Regions from separate parts of the Homo sapiens genome. Here region 2 is linked to region 1. Evidence: promoter capture Hi-C in 16 types of primary human blood cells and fetal thymus (Javierre and others, 2016). All regions are on one chromosome and are shown on one strand. The core of a region is centred on a gene start or on the middle of the fragment in contact, and the rest is flanking DNA. Distances in the headings are between cores, read along the strand shown.

Region 1 (7,349 bases), core at 668-3,167:
CACGCCTGTAATCCCAGCACTTTGGGGGGTCGAGGCGGGCGGATCACCTGAGGTCAGGAGTTAAGAGACCAGCCTGGCCAACAAGGTGAAACCCCCGTCTCTACTAAAAATACAAAAATTAGCTGGGCGTGGTCGCCGGCGCCTGTAACCCCAGCTACTCCGGAGGCTGAGGCAGGAGAACCGCTTGAACCCAGGAGGCGGAGGTTGCAGTGAGCAGAGATCGTGCCACTGCACTCCAGCCCGAGTGACAGAGCAAGATTCCATCTCAAAAAAAAAAAAACAAAAAAAAAAACTATATATAGAGCTCTTAGTTTTCTACGAAATCTTTACTACCTGGTTTCCACTGCTATCTAAGTTAGCTTAGGCCCGGCTCGGTGGCTCACACCTGTAATCCCCGCACTTTGGAGGCCAAGGTGGTTGGATCGCTTAAGTCCAGAATTAGGAGACCAGCCGGTGTAACATGGTGAAACCCCGGTTCTAAAAAAAATACAAAAATTAGCCAGGCATGGTGCCGCACGTCTGTGGTCCCAGCTGCTGGGGAGGCTGAGGTGGGAGGAGCACTTGAGCCCGGGAGGCGGAAGTTGCAGTGAGCCCAGATTGCACCGTCTAGCCTGGGGACAGAGCAAGACCTTGGCTCAGAAAAATTAAATACATGTTAGATTTAATTTTTTCCAACCTCTCACTTGGCTAATAATTTTTCAAAGCAGTACTGTACTTATAAATATTACAGAACCTAAATCTCCAACCCTAACTATGCAACAATATTAGTTATAAATTACAATTTTAACTTACATGTAAGTTTAATATGGTCTCTCTTATGAAAAAAAGGCTGGGAGAGGTTAGAGATGACTTATTCACTCTCATTTCCTCGTAAATACCACCCTTTATTCTCATTTAAAGTCTTAAACCCTGGCCGAGTAGCTCCAGCCTAGAAAGAAGAAAACACAGAAGTAGGCAAAAGACTTAAAGTTACTAAGTACGTTTTATAATTTGGTTACTAGCCTTCATACTCATTTTGCCAACCAATCAACATAAAACCTACTCAATCGAGCACAACTACTGCTTCGACAGGCAGCTTACTGGAATGGAAACTCTCGACTCTGATATTTCCTCTTACTAAAAAAAGTATTAACCGGGCACATGGCTATACACAGGATTTCTAGAAACAGAACTTAACATGCAGTCCTGTATTAAATGAACTAACAACCTAGAAAAGAAATTAAGGAGGCACAAACACCAAACTAAACACACAGTTTTGAGCAATTGTATAGAGAGGGAAATAGGATTCCGTGATTTTATAAAAGGAAATTAAAACAGTCAGGCTCAAAACGTCACAGCAGACTTCTAAGGCTTGTTTAACTGTCAGTTATGATCCCCGCAGCAGCTGAAGCCACCTTCTAAAACTCACCAAGACAAATGAAATTATTTTAATGAACTTAATGAACATGCGTCCCCGACATGGCCAACGAGCCAGGCTTCCGTGGGACTGAACGGCAATCCGATTCACGGTGGGTTTCCTCACTGAGGATTACAGGAAAACCGCTTCAGAACACCCGGAAAGGAAAGTTGCCCGAAGAACCCTTCTCCGACACAAGGCGGGCTGGCTCGCCACCAAGTCAGCCCCTTCGCGCTTGCCTGAAAGGAAGGAGTGGCGACCTCACCCTAGTCGGCCGGCCGGCCGCGCGGCTTCCCCTCGCCGGCGCAGCCTTGGGCACCGCGGCTCACACCCCCACACAGGCCGCCCAGTCCTGCGCTCGCACGGCCACCGCCTTCGTCGCCGTCCAGTGGGAGATGCGAGCATTCGGGGCTGAAGCCGTTCGCACCGCCTCCTCCATGGAGAAGCGCCGAGGAAAACCTGCCAAGGACAACCTCCGGCACCGCCGTCACCACCGCTGCCGGGACCTAGGGCCGGCGCCGGAAAACCTAGGCGCGGCTAAATGACGCAAGAGGCCTCGCGCGCACGCGCAGTGCCGCACCACGTACACCCCGCCCCCGGGGCTCTCTCCCGCCGGGTTCCGGTTCCTTTACAAGGCCCCAGTCGGCTGAGCGCGGAGGGCGGGGCGCGTAGAGTGTGGGGACGGGGGCGGGGCGCAGGATCCAGGCGGGACCTGGCGAGGGACGAAGCTGGAAGCGTAGTTAAGCAGTACAGTATGCTGCCAGGTGGCGTTGGCCGATCAGTTCAAAATCAAACTCCGGCGTGGCCCTTATTTAAAACGAGGATTCCGGGCCCGGCGCTGTGGCTCACGCCTGTAATCCCAGCACTTTGGGAGACCAAGGCGGGCGGATCCCGAGGTCAGCAGATCGAGACCATCCTGGCTAACACGGTGAAACCCCGCCCCTACTAAAAATACAAAAAATTAGCCGGGCGTGGTGGCGGGTGCTTGTAGTCCCAGCTACTCGGGACACTGAGGCAGGAGAAGGGCGCGAACCCGGGAGGCGGAGCTTGCAGTGATCGGAGATCCCGCCACTGCACTCCAGCCTGGGCGACAGAGCGAGACTCCGTCTCAAAAAAAAATAGAATAAATGAGGGTTCCGGCCGGGCGCGGTGGCTCACACCTGTAATCACAGCACTTTGGGAGGCCGAGGCGGGCAGATCACGAGGTCAGGAGTTCGAGACCAACGTGACCAACATGGGGAAACCGCATCTCTACTAAAAATACAAAAATTAGCTGGACGTGTTGGTGCGCGCCAGTAATCTCAGCTACTCCAGAGGCTGAGGCAGGGGAATCGCTTGAACTCGGGAGGCGGAGGTTGCAGTGAGCCGAGATCAGCCACTGCACTCCACCTGGGCGACAGAGCGAGACTCCTTCTCAAAAATAAATAAATAAATAAAATAAAATGAGGGTTCCCAGGGGCAGTCACAGTGTGAAGCTGCATTTAATTGGTGTCCCCGGGCGATGCCAAAGGGGAACAGAGCTCCCAAGAGGGCAAGAAGCGGGGGAAAGGGTGGGTCCAAAGCTGGGGGCGGGACGGGGCGGGGCCGAAATAGCTGTGGTAGTTCGACGACCGCTGGGCCCTTCCTTACTGACCCGGTCGCGGAATAGATGTGAGGTTGACGTTTGGTGAAAGCCCGCCTCGAGACACTGAGAGCAGATTGATTGAATGATTGATTTTGAGACAGAGTCTCGCTCTGTCGCCAGACTGGAGTGCAGTGGCACGATCTCGGCTCACTGCAAACTCCGCCTCCCCGGTTCAAGCGATTCTCCTGCCTCAGCCTCCCGAATAGCTGGGACTGTAGGCGCGCGCCGCCACGCCCGGCTAATTTTTTTTTTTTTTTAAGACGGAGTCTTTCTTGTCACCCAGGCTGGAGCGCAGTGACACGATCTCGGCTCACTGCAACCTCTGCCTCCTGGGTTCAATGAAGCCATTCTCCTGCCTCAGCCTCCCCAGTAGCTGGGATTACAGGTGCACACCACCACGCCCAGCTAATTTTTGTATTTTTAGTAGAGATGGGGTTTCACCATGTTGGCCAGGCTGGTTTCGAACTCCTGACCTCGTGATCCGCCCGCCTCGGCCTCCCAAAGTGCTGGGATTACAGGTGTGAGCCACCACACCCAGCCAATTTTTGCATTTTTATTAGAGACAGGGTTTCACCATGTTGGCCAGGATGGTCTCGATCTCTTGACCTCGTGATTCACCCGCCTCAGCCTCCCAAAGCGCAGATTTATTTTTCATGAGATGTATAGGAAACTAACTGTTAGGCTATCCTGCCTTGGCTCCTCCTGGAAAGGAGAAATTCCTTGGGATCCACCAACGTGGTTTCTGCAAAAGTAGTCAAAGACAGAGCTCATTTGTAAGAAGCAAAGAGTAGCCAGCTAGAGTTAGATCTCCTAGTAAATCAATGATTCCTTGGTTGCAGGTGTAGAGTCCCTTAGGAATGTTGTTCCAGGTTGTGACTAGACACAAAAACACTATTATATGAAATTCAAATCATGTGGGGGGAGGATCTTTATAAAATGAATTATGCACTTTTTGAAACAAAACACCAAATATCATTTGTCCTTTTCAGGCTCTAATCCTATTGGACTGTTGTGTTCTAGACTGTATACACAGCCCCTGACCACTCTGGTTTTGGTTTAGGTCACTATGCAGCTTCTAATTTTAAAGCTTTTAATCTGCCGTGAGCCTAGCAATCATCTTAAAACTGGCTCAGAGGACCTATTACTTGCATCTCAGAACTGGCTCAGAGGATCTATTACTTTCTTTGGTCTCAGCCATGTTTTGGCTAGTTGACACTCTCAGATAAGGAATTCCATTGAATATTGAAAGACGGTTGACAAGTTGGTCTCAGGTGATGTGGTAGATTGATGAAAAATGGCTCCAATTTCCCACACATTTTGCAGTGACTTTGCAGCTCCCCTCTATTTCCTGAATCTGTACTGGCCTTGGGCTTTGGCCAAGAACATGTGGCAGTTCCAGACTAAATTATGATGCCTGGACTAGCCTGCTGGAGGAGGGGACCACATGGGGCAAGGCAAGCAGCAAATCCACCTAGGTAAATGCTGGCTGACTACCATTGAGACCAGCCACTGACCAAAACTGCCCCATTAACCCATAAACACATGAGGAAGGATAAATTACTATTGTCTGAGCCACTTATTTTGGGGTAGATTGGTATGTAGCAATAACTAACTGATACAGATGCCAACAAATACCTCTAGGACAGAGGTCCCCAAGAGTGCGAACCTTATTGTGAATTGTGCATGCGAGGGATCTAGGTTGCACGCTCCTTATGAGAATCTAAATAATGCCTGATGATCTGAGGTGGGACACTTTCATCCCGAAAACATCCTCCCCGCGCCCCCCTTCCCCAGCGTCTGTGGAAAAATTGTCTTCTATGAAATCAGTCCTTGGTACCAAAAGGGTTGGGGACTGCTGCTCTAGGAGGCAGATGAGTAATAAAGTAGTGGTTTGTTCACATGAACAGGAATGCTTAGGTGTCGATATGTTAATTTAACCTAACGAACAAATTTGCTTGTCACTCCTTTCTGCCAGCTGGAGCTCCACCTCATCTAATCAGCTTTCTGTCATTATTTGGACCTCCCACCGGACACCTCCCCCGACACTGCACAGTGCATTGTCTTTATAAGTCTATATATACCTTGCTAATATGCTGCAGGCTTCTTACATGCCCACATCACTTCTCCAGCCCGTGATGTTGTACATCTTGTATACTCTGAGTGTTCAAGCAGTTGTCATGAGATATTTTTAAGGTTTTAAAACTCTAACTCCTTCTCATACACTACTGGTGGAATTGTAAAATGGGACAATTTCCTTGGAAAATTGGTTGACAGTTTCTTAAAAAGTTAAACATACACCGACCAAATGACCTGGCAGTTCTACTCCTGAGTATTTACTCAACAGAAATGTATCCATAAAAATACTTGCAGGCCGGGTGCGGTGGCTCACACCTGTAATCCCAGCCCTTTGGGAGGCCGAGATGGGCGGATCACGAGGTTAGGAGATTGAGACCATCCCGGCTAACACGGTGAAACCCCGTCTCTACTAAAATTACAAAAATTAGCTGGGTGTGGTGGTGGCGGCACCTATAGTAACAGCTACTCGGGAGGCTGAGACAGGAGAACAGCGGGAACCCGGGAGGCGGAGCTTGCAGTGAGCTGAGATCGCACCATTGCACTCCAGCCTGGGGAACAAGAGCAAAACTCCTAAAAAAAAAGCCTCAAAAAAAAAAAAAAAGGCAGGGGGATGAACTATTGATACATGCCTTAACATAGCTGAGTCTCAAAATAATTAGTAAGTGAAACAAGCAGACCAAAAAAACAGTGTGTACTCAACGATCACATTTATATAAAAGCCTAGGAAATGGAAGCCCATGTATAGTTACAGAAAGCAGATGAGTGGGCCCCTAGGAGTAGAGGAGGCAAGGAGGGTGAAGGGATTACAGTGGGTCAAAAAGAAACTTTGGTGTGATGGGGATGTTCGGTGTTTTGTTTATGGCAATGTTTTCATCATAAGACACTTGTCAAAACTTACCAAATCACACATTTTATATATGTGCAGTTTATTATATGTCAATTATACCCCAATAAAGCTGTTGAAATCTTGTCATTGTTACAGAGGCACAGAAGCAAGAAGTCTGGCCTGTGCTTCTGTAACAATGACAAGACTTCAACAGCTTTAAAACAGTATTTTTAAAAATCATGTATTAGGAAATCAAATAGTTTTCTTATGTATAAATTGTTCCCCAATTACTCTTGTATGTTTTGGTTTTGTTACAACAGAAGCATCAAAACAGCAAAGCAGATGATCATTTTTTCTTTACCTCAACCCCTATCACTAGTTAAAATTGCCCTTTGTCCTTCCAAAATGAATAGTGGCATTCCCTGTTGCGGGAAGTCAGGGACCCCCAAAGGGAGGGACCGACTGAAGCCATGGCAGAAGAACGTGGATTGTGAAGATTTCATGGACATTTATTAGTTCCCCAAATTAATACTTTTATAATTTCTTATGCTTGTCTTTACTGCAATCTCTAAACATAAATTGTGAAGATTTCATGGACACTTATCACTTCCCCAATCAATATTCTTGTGATTTCCTATGCCTGTCTTTACTTTAATCTCTTAATCCTGTCATCTCGTAAGCCGAGGAGGACGTATGTCGCCTCAGGACCATGTGATAATTGAGTTAACTGCACAAATTGTAGAGCATGTGTGTTTGAACAATATGAAATCTGGGCACCTTGAAAAAAGAACAGGATAACAGCAATTGTTCAGGGAATAAGAGAGCTAACCTTAAACTCTGACCACCAGTGAGCCCGGCAGAACAGAGCCATATTTCTCTTCTTTCAAAAGCAAATGGGAGAAATATCGCTGAATTCTTTTTCTCAGCAAGGAACATCCCTGGGAAAGAGAATACATGCCTGGGGGTGGGTCTCTAAACTGGCCCCCCTGGGCATGGCCGTCTTTTATGGTCTGTAGACTGCAGGGGTGAAACAGACCCCAGTCTCCCATAGTGCTCCCAGGCTTATTAGGAAGAAGAAATTCCTGCCTAATAAATTTTGGTCAGACCGGTTGCTCTCAAAACCCTGTCTCCTGATGTTATCAATGACAATGGTGCCCGAAACTTCATTAGCAATTTTAATTTTGCCCCGTCCTGTGGTCCTGTGATCTCACCCTGCCTCCATTTGCCTTGTGATATTCTATTACCTTGTAAAGTACTTGATGTCTGTGACCCACACCTATTCGCACACTCCCTCCCCTTTTGAAAGTCCCTAATAAAAACTTGCTGGTTTTGTGGCTTGGGGGGCATCACAAAACCTACTAACATGTGATGTCTCCCCCGGACGCCCAGCTTTAAAATTTCTCCCTTTTGTACTCTGTCCCTTTATT
Region 2 (7,109 bases), core at 3,900-6,399, 3.3 Mb before region 1:
TAACTATGGGGGACACACAGCTTTTTGCACATTTGGATCAGAAAAGCATGCTCACGGCCAGCTAGAAAGTATGGAAATGCCCCCACCCCGGCTGAGAGATAAGACTCCCCTGGGGGATGGGCTGATCACAGAATGGACTGATCAGCTTTGGGTTACTTTGCAATCAAATGCACAGGAAAATGATTGCACTGTCTTGTTCCACAGCATTTCTCTTTTGGGGATCCAGGAGTCAGTATGATAATAGAACCCTGTATTTTGGGGGATCTGTTTTGCCTTCCAGCTGTGCCTGTTTATTAGACCCTAAAAAATAACTGCGTGTTTTCCTAGCCCTGTTCCTCCAAGGACTCCACCATGAAGCCAGTAATCCAATTAAGAAACTTTAAAACTGGCAAATGAAAAATCTTACAACTGCTGGATCTTCTTCTGTCTTTCTGTGTATTTATATTATTGCACATGTGATGTTTATATATGAAAGAGCTCTGATTAATTGGCTTAAAAATAATAAGTGCTTAAATCAAATATTTTGTCAGAAAAGTAAAAAATGTAATGCTTTTTAGTTCACATGACTTCAGTAATCTTTGGGAAATAGAAACAGCTATAAAGGTTATTGGTAAAATAAAGACATTTGGTCTAAATTAGGCAAGTCAGATATTAGGTTTACTAAATACTTTAAGGTCATAAACTGCTTTGACTTTTGAAAAGTGTTCGACTGAACTGCTTCAGAGCTATTAGATTCTAAATAAGGCCTGGGGACAAGTGGAGTTACCCATGCCCCTGGCTATGCTGGAAAGAGTCAGACTTTATCTGCACTTCTGTCTGGTGTTCTAGGTTCCAGACTTGGTACATAATCAGAATCGCTCACTTACCAGGTTTTTCACCAAAAATAAAACTTGCTAAGTGAGGCTGGGTGCGGTGGCTCACGCCTATAATCCCAGCACTTTGGGAGGCTGAGGCTGGCAGATCACCTGAGGTCAGGAGTTTGAGACCAGCCTGGCCAACACAGAGAAACCCCGTCTCTACTAAAAATACAAAACTTAGCCAGGAGTGGTGTGAGTGCCTGTAATCCCAGCTGCTCGAAAGGCTGAGGCAGGAGAACCACTTGAACCTGGGAGGTGGAGGTTGCAGTGAGCCAAGATCATGTGACTGCACTCCAGTCTGGGTAACAGAGCAAGACTCCATCTCCAAAAAAATAATTAAAAAAAAAAAAAAAAGTTGCTGAGTGTTAACATTGTAACATATAATTGAGACTACTGAAGGAACAGTTTTACATGCAGGGGGTATAAAGAAAGTGAAATGTGTTTTTAGTAAAAGATCATAAGAAGTCATGGGAATGTGGATATTTTTGCCTAGATTAAAGGGTTAAAGAATTGTTTTAGGTTAGATAAGGATAAAGCTGAAGGTTTAAGCAAGTTGTGGAAGGTTTGTGAAAAGTTAATCTTGTAAAAGTAACTCTGTGTGTGAACTTACTGAGTAAAGTTAAAGGGGTTTTATTCAGTTTTTCCATAAGTTACATATTGGAATAAAAGCTCAACAGGGTTTTCTTAGAGCACTGATCTGCTCTTTAACAAAAATTTGTAAAGGGTTATAAAGGGTTTATGAGAATCTCACCTTATGATCAAACTGATTAAGATTAAATAGATTTGTCTATAAGGTTTTATTAAAGATTGGGGTTGACATTAATAGTATCCTAATTCAAGGGTGAAACTTGGCTTTTTCTCTTCAACAAGATTTTCATGTAACAATAACGAAATTGTTTCATATAAACAATTGTTTCATGTAAACAATTCGTAAAAACGAATTGTTTCATGTAAACAATAACGAAAGATTTTACTTTGCCTTTTGAATAAACTACTGAATAAAGAAGGGAAAAACAAGAGACAGATGGTTTGGAAAGCTAAGTCTTCCTTCTATCAATAAGTGAAGATTTTTGCCTTTTTAAAAGTTTCGAGTTAGTATTTTGACTAAATGAATGATTTATGGTGACCTAGAATTCTATTTCATAATATCAAGTGTTTCAAACCGTTAACATATTTTATAGGTGAAACCGCCATTGCTAAATTGTCACTGAGATAGTGAAAGAGATCTGACCTAACCGACTCCATCTTGCTTCTAATCTCCAAGCTGTCTTTGTTCATTCCTGGGTGTAGGCTGAACTATCTTTGGGAGAAACTTTGTTTATAGTTTATAATTTAAAACAAACATGGTAACAGTCCTTTCCCAAAAGAAACCCCTTTCTTGCCTGGGGACTAGACTGCCCTTATAGTCAAATTAGCAAATTAGCCACAGATTAGAAATTATGGCTTAGGAGTCATGCAGCTGAGGCTACAAGAGTCTGACCCTCCCTAAACTGCTCCTAAAATCAGTGCTTGAGGTATTTTGCAGCCCCTGCACTTGATGGATCAGCTGACACCATCCAGACTGACAAACTGGCTTATCTGGTCTTGTGGTCCCCACCCAGGAAATGACCCAGCACAAGAAGACAGCTTCAACTCCCTATGATTTCACCTCGGACCTGACCAATCAGCATTTGCAGTTCACTGGCTTCCCCCGACTCACCAAGCTGGTCTTAAAAATTCTGATCCCCGAATGCTCAGGAAGACTGACTTGAGTAATAATAAAACTCTGGTCTCCCACACAGCTGGCTCTGCATGAATTACGCTTTCTTGATTGCAATTCCCCTGTCTTGATAAATTGGCTTTGTCTAGGCAGTGGGCAAGGTGAACCCACTGGGTGGTTACACAGGCTTCCCAAAATCAAATTTCATCTTCAAAATCGTCTCTTCTGACCTCTAACTTTGACATGCTACAGAGGGCCCCTGAAGACTTTAAAAGAGGTCAACAGGATTATTTGACATGTTAAGTTACATGGGAAGCTCTGTAAAAGTAAAAAATAATGTTTAACATTCTTCATGTTATATTTTAGTGAATGATGTTAATATATGTTCCAAAATTGTATGGGATTGCTAAAATTCGAATATGTCTGGTATATGCTATCAATCATAATATGTTAAGTTATTTTAGACCACAGAAATAACCAAATTTCCTTGTCAAGTGTGGCTTTAATTATGACTATTTAAAGCCATTTCCACAGTTAATTGCTTAATGCTGATGCAGTTTCTGAAAACTTCACAAGCACACCAAATCCTAGAATATGGTGTCTTTTGGGAGGTTCATGAAAGGATGGAAAAGACCCTGAAAATCACTCTTGTATACAGGTTTCTGGTAACTTTAAAATCATATCATTTGGACTGGGTAATAATTCCTGGAACTTTAATGAAAAGACTGACTGGGTTACAAAACTGCTAACCCAAGTAAAATAAAAATTAATTGAATACCAAGAAAATACTTTGCAAGATTTTCACGCTAAATCAGCCAATACTGAAATTGTTTAGATATACAAATTGAATGAACTCCATGGTCTAAGTCAAATTACCTATGTTAACCCATCAGTTATCAGCATTATGTATCTAAATTGGAGAAGTAACTGGTATTCGAGAAGACATAAGTCCAATGTTAAGCATGGACTCATGGAGAACCAGGACAGTCACCTTGTCCTTTCTGACTCTTTAAAGATTTTATTAAAAGCTCTGCATTCCATGACTCATCACAGAAAAGATAAAATGACCCAAATTAAATATACATTGGCATGAATTCTAAATTGCTAAAATAGTTTATGACCAATGTTTGGTTTTTCAAACCTATACTCCTGGGAAGACAATCAAAGCTTCAGGTACATTTGGCTACCCAATGGGTCATTTAAACATTTATGGAGGGATTTCATTTAATTGTCATTTTCAGTGAATATTTTCTGGTTGTATGAAAGCTTTACCATGCAAGAGGACTGATGTTATAACAATAATTATGTCACAGGCAAAAAAACTTTTTATGGTTCACTGAGGACAATCAACTCCTTCACAATCTAGAACCCGAAGATTGGATCCTCTGAGACATCAGAGAAAGATTGCTTTAGCCATCCTCACTGCAGTAAAACTTCAGGACCTCGAGCCTTGGGTTCATAATCTCACAACTGAGAAGGGTCCCTCCACACTGTTGAACTGTACACCCATTGGAACCCTTAAGGTAAAGCTAACCAGGGAAGTTTCTCCCTAAGAAGAAGATGGCATCCTTGATGCAAAAAGCTTTTCCCAACATCACAGATCAAGACTTCTATTATCATGAGACTCTTATCTTTGAATACTTTTCCCCTTGCTTATGCCTGTATGAACAATACAAGTGGAAAAGGGGTCTGTTGTGTGCACTCATGGGGTATACTTTTAGTTATGAAGGATTTTGCAGCCAGCCTTATACATGGATAACCTTATATCTTGACAGATGAAAGATGAAGGCCCGATGTAGGTGAGAAACAGAAACTTTAATGGTACACACTTTGCCTCGTAATCAGTCAGAAACAGAGCATTGGTTCACTCCTCTTAACCCACATCATGGGTTAAAGAGAACATTACCAGGAGAGCTTCACTCTTCTAGAAGGGCATCATTTGTTAGGTCCTTTTTTCCATGGTTTCGAGTAAAAAAGGCAATGATGAGAAATGTTTCCCTCATGATAGGCTCTATAGCAGATTCTACTGTAAAAGCCATGGTTACACAGCAGACTTTAAATTATCTTGTGAAAATTATGCTAAATAATAGAACTGGCTAAACAGAAAACTATCTGTGTCACTGTTGACACTTGTGGCCTATAGAGAAATATATCAAAAGTAGATTACAGAGATTCAGTTGTAAAGGATTAGCAAAGAGACCACTTAATTAAGCAAGTCGACTCTTTAGCTCATTCTTTGATCTATTTAATTTTAGGTGATTTGGTTTATGGGGGTCTTGGGTAGGGAGGATACTCCAAACTCTTGCTATTATCCCCCTGATAGTTATAATAGTAGTCTCCCTGGTATGCTGTATTCTCTCAAAAGTTTTAAATGTTTGCATGCAGCCATCTCTAAAATGTCAAATGGTCTTTCTTCAACTGGAATGACAAGAACTGAAAGAAATGTGTGACCATGACGACATCGTAACCTATGAATGACCACATTGAGACCAGAAACCCAAACTGATGGTACTGAAAGTGGCACTAAAGCCCTTAGTTTTGGTCACACTTTCACCTAAGTGAGAACCTGACCCAAAAGGAGGAATTTTTAAACAAAATTATGAGAGGCCATTGTTTTGGACTGAGCTCATGCACTAGGCCCCAAAAGGACCAGACCAAACCAAAATGGAGTCACTCACGTTAAATGTGATGTAATCAAACTAAGACTTTAAGGAAACACACAGATCCTAGAACAGATCAGGTTTTGTTTTTCTCCTGTAAACAGGACGTTCCAGCATAAGGAGGTACCTTCTACTCAGTCCTTGCTCCTACCTTGCAAAACCCACTGTTCTACCATTTCCCAGTGGGTTTAAAGACCAAATAAGTATATTTACAATGGTTACAGTGACATCAATGACTAAAGTTTTGATCTCTCTAATTTGGGGTGAAATTGTTAAATCAAGTTTAGCCTAAAGCTGCCTCCTTACATATTTTAAGTTCAGCCTAAAGGTTTCTCTGCACATGGTGAACTACAACAAGTGGAAGTGTAAACAGACCGCAGCCTACACTTGTGCCAATCACTGAGTTTTGGCCAATCAAATGTAGCCAACTGTTCAAACTGTTCAAATAAGGCAAACACCAAGCTGTACCCAATCCAGCTCTTTCTGTACCTCACTTCCATTTTCTGTGTGTCACTTTCCTTTTTCTGTCCATCAGTCTTCTTCCACCCCATGGCTGTGCTGGAGTCTCAGAGTCTACTCTGGCTCAGGAGGCTGCCTGATTCATGAATCATTCATTGCTTAAACCCCTTTACATTTAATTCAGCTGAAGTTTTTTTTAATCAGTGGTATGATGAGAATAATCCTCTTGGGATGGGGATGGAGGCACCATGGCACAGAAGTCAATTCCGGGAGGATTTCTTTTTTGAACTATTCATTTATTTAGGAGTGCTTCTATAATGAAGTTACATTCAAGCTGAGTCTTGCTGACAGGTACACATTTCTTAGGTAGAGAAAAATGGACAAATAACATGCATAAAATAGGGGAAAGAAAGGATTTTAGGAAGAAACAAATCAGACAAAAGAAAAATGTTTTCAAGCAGTTGGGTGTGTTAGGAGAAGCTTCAAGGATCTGAAGCAGAGAAGTGAGGCTGTGGGTTGGGGCATGAGTCAGATGCTAATAACCTTCCCGAATTGCTAAGGAATTTGAACGTGATCTGATATGATTAATGCCATTAAAGGGTTTTAAACTGTGGACTTGCCTAATCGTATTAGACAGAGGACAAACCTGGGGCATGAGAGACCAGCGAGGAAGCCTATCCAACAGTTCTGGAGGGACCCAGTGAAGACCCACACTCACTGATAATAGGACCTAAGGGAGAACATTGACAGGAATGTTTAACTCTTTCCTTTCAGCCGGAGGTGAAGTCTCACAAAGTTAATGAGGCTTAAGCTTCCGGGAACCTCAGTTGTTCCGGCCTTTTCTAAGCCCTGGGAGTAGCTCCCGGAATATCTTCTTAGAGTCATATGTTTTTGTAAAAATATGCAAAATAAAATGTTTTAATTGCCATCAGTTAAATGTCTCTTTCCCCTGAAATATTCTTTCACTTTAAAAATCAAAGTATCTGTAATTTTGGAAGCAAGTACAATTTTTTGTTGTTATTGCTGTTCTTATTGATGTTGGAGAACCTCAGATTTTAATTAAACAGTGAGCTTTCCATTTAGTCTCCCCTGTTAATATAATAGGTAGATCTGACACTCACAGTTAGGGGTAGAGGAATTAAGTTGAACGATATGAAATTTCCATTGTAGTAAGTCAAAACCAGTGGATTCTTGACAATTTCATGAGGTTAAGCTAATATAATTAAACAGTTACTTTTTAAAATAGAAGTTTTGCTTGGCTTAGAGAACCACCAAAGACACTCTCTGGAAGCAATGTCAATTTTTGTTTTGTTTTGTGTGTTTGTTAGAGCAAGAATAAGGGTAGTCATCATCTTCCTTCCCCACTGGACACATTTATTTAACATGAGTTGAGAAAGTTGGACTTGCCAAAAATTATTTCTACAACCTTAACTA

The links. Contacts are between HindIII fragments. The CHiCAGO score rates a contact against its expected background, and 5 or more counts as called.
Region 2: a contact is called between a fragment that was not itself captured here and the fragment with the promoter of NIPA2 in region 1, in 3 of 17 cell types (fetal thymus, non-activated CD4 T cells and total CD4 T cells). The highest score is 11.9, in fetal thymus.

What each region holds. Positions count from the first base shown.
Region 1 is chr15:22,833,234-22,840,582 of GRCh38, reverse strand. NIPA2 (NIPA magnesium transporter 2) reads right to left here and starts at 1,917. Exons shown (of 8, transcript NM_030922.7): 1 at 1,662-1,917; 2 at 793-928. RefSeq lists an enhancer at 1,791-2,020. The HindIII fragment of the contact is 4,457 bases long and covers 1-4,105 here.
Region 2 is chr15:26,086,736-26,093,844 of GRCh38, reverse strand. LOC105370739 (a long non-coding RNA gene) reads left to right here. Exons shown (of 6, transcript XR_932005.3): 6 at 3,870-4,214. Among named protein-coding and RNA genes, the nearest start is that of TRE-TTC2-2, 8.0 kb to the right of the region's middle. The HindIII fragment of the contact is 2,017 bases long and covers 4,141-6,157 here.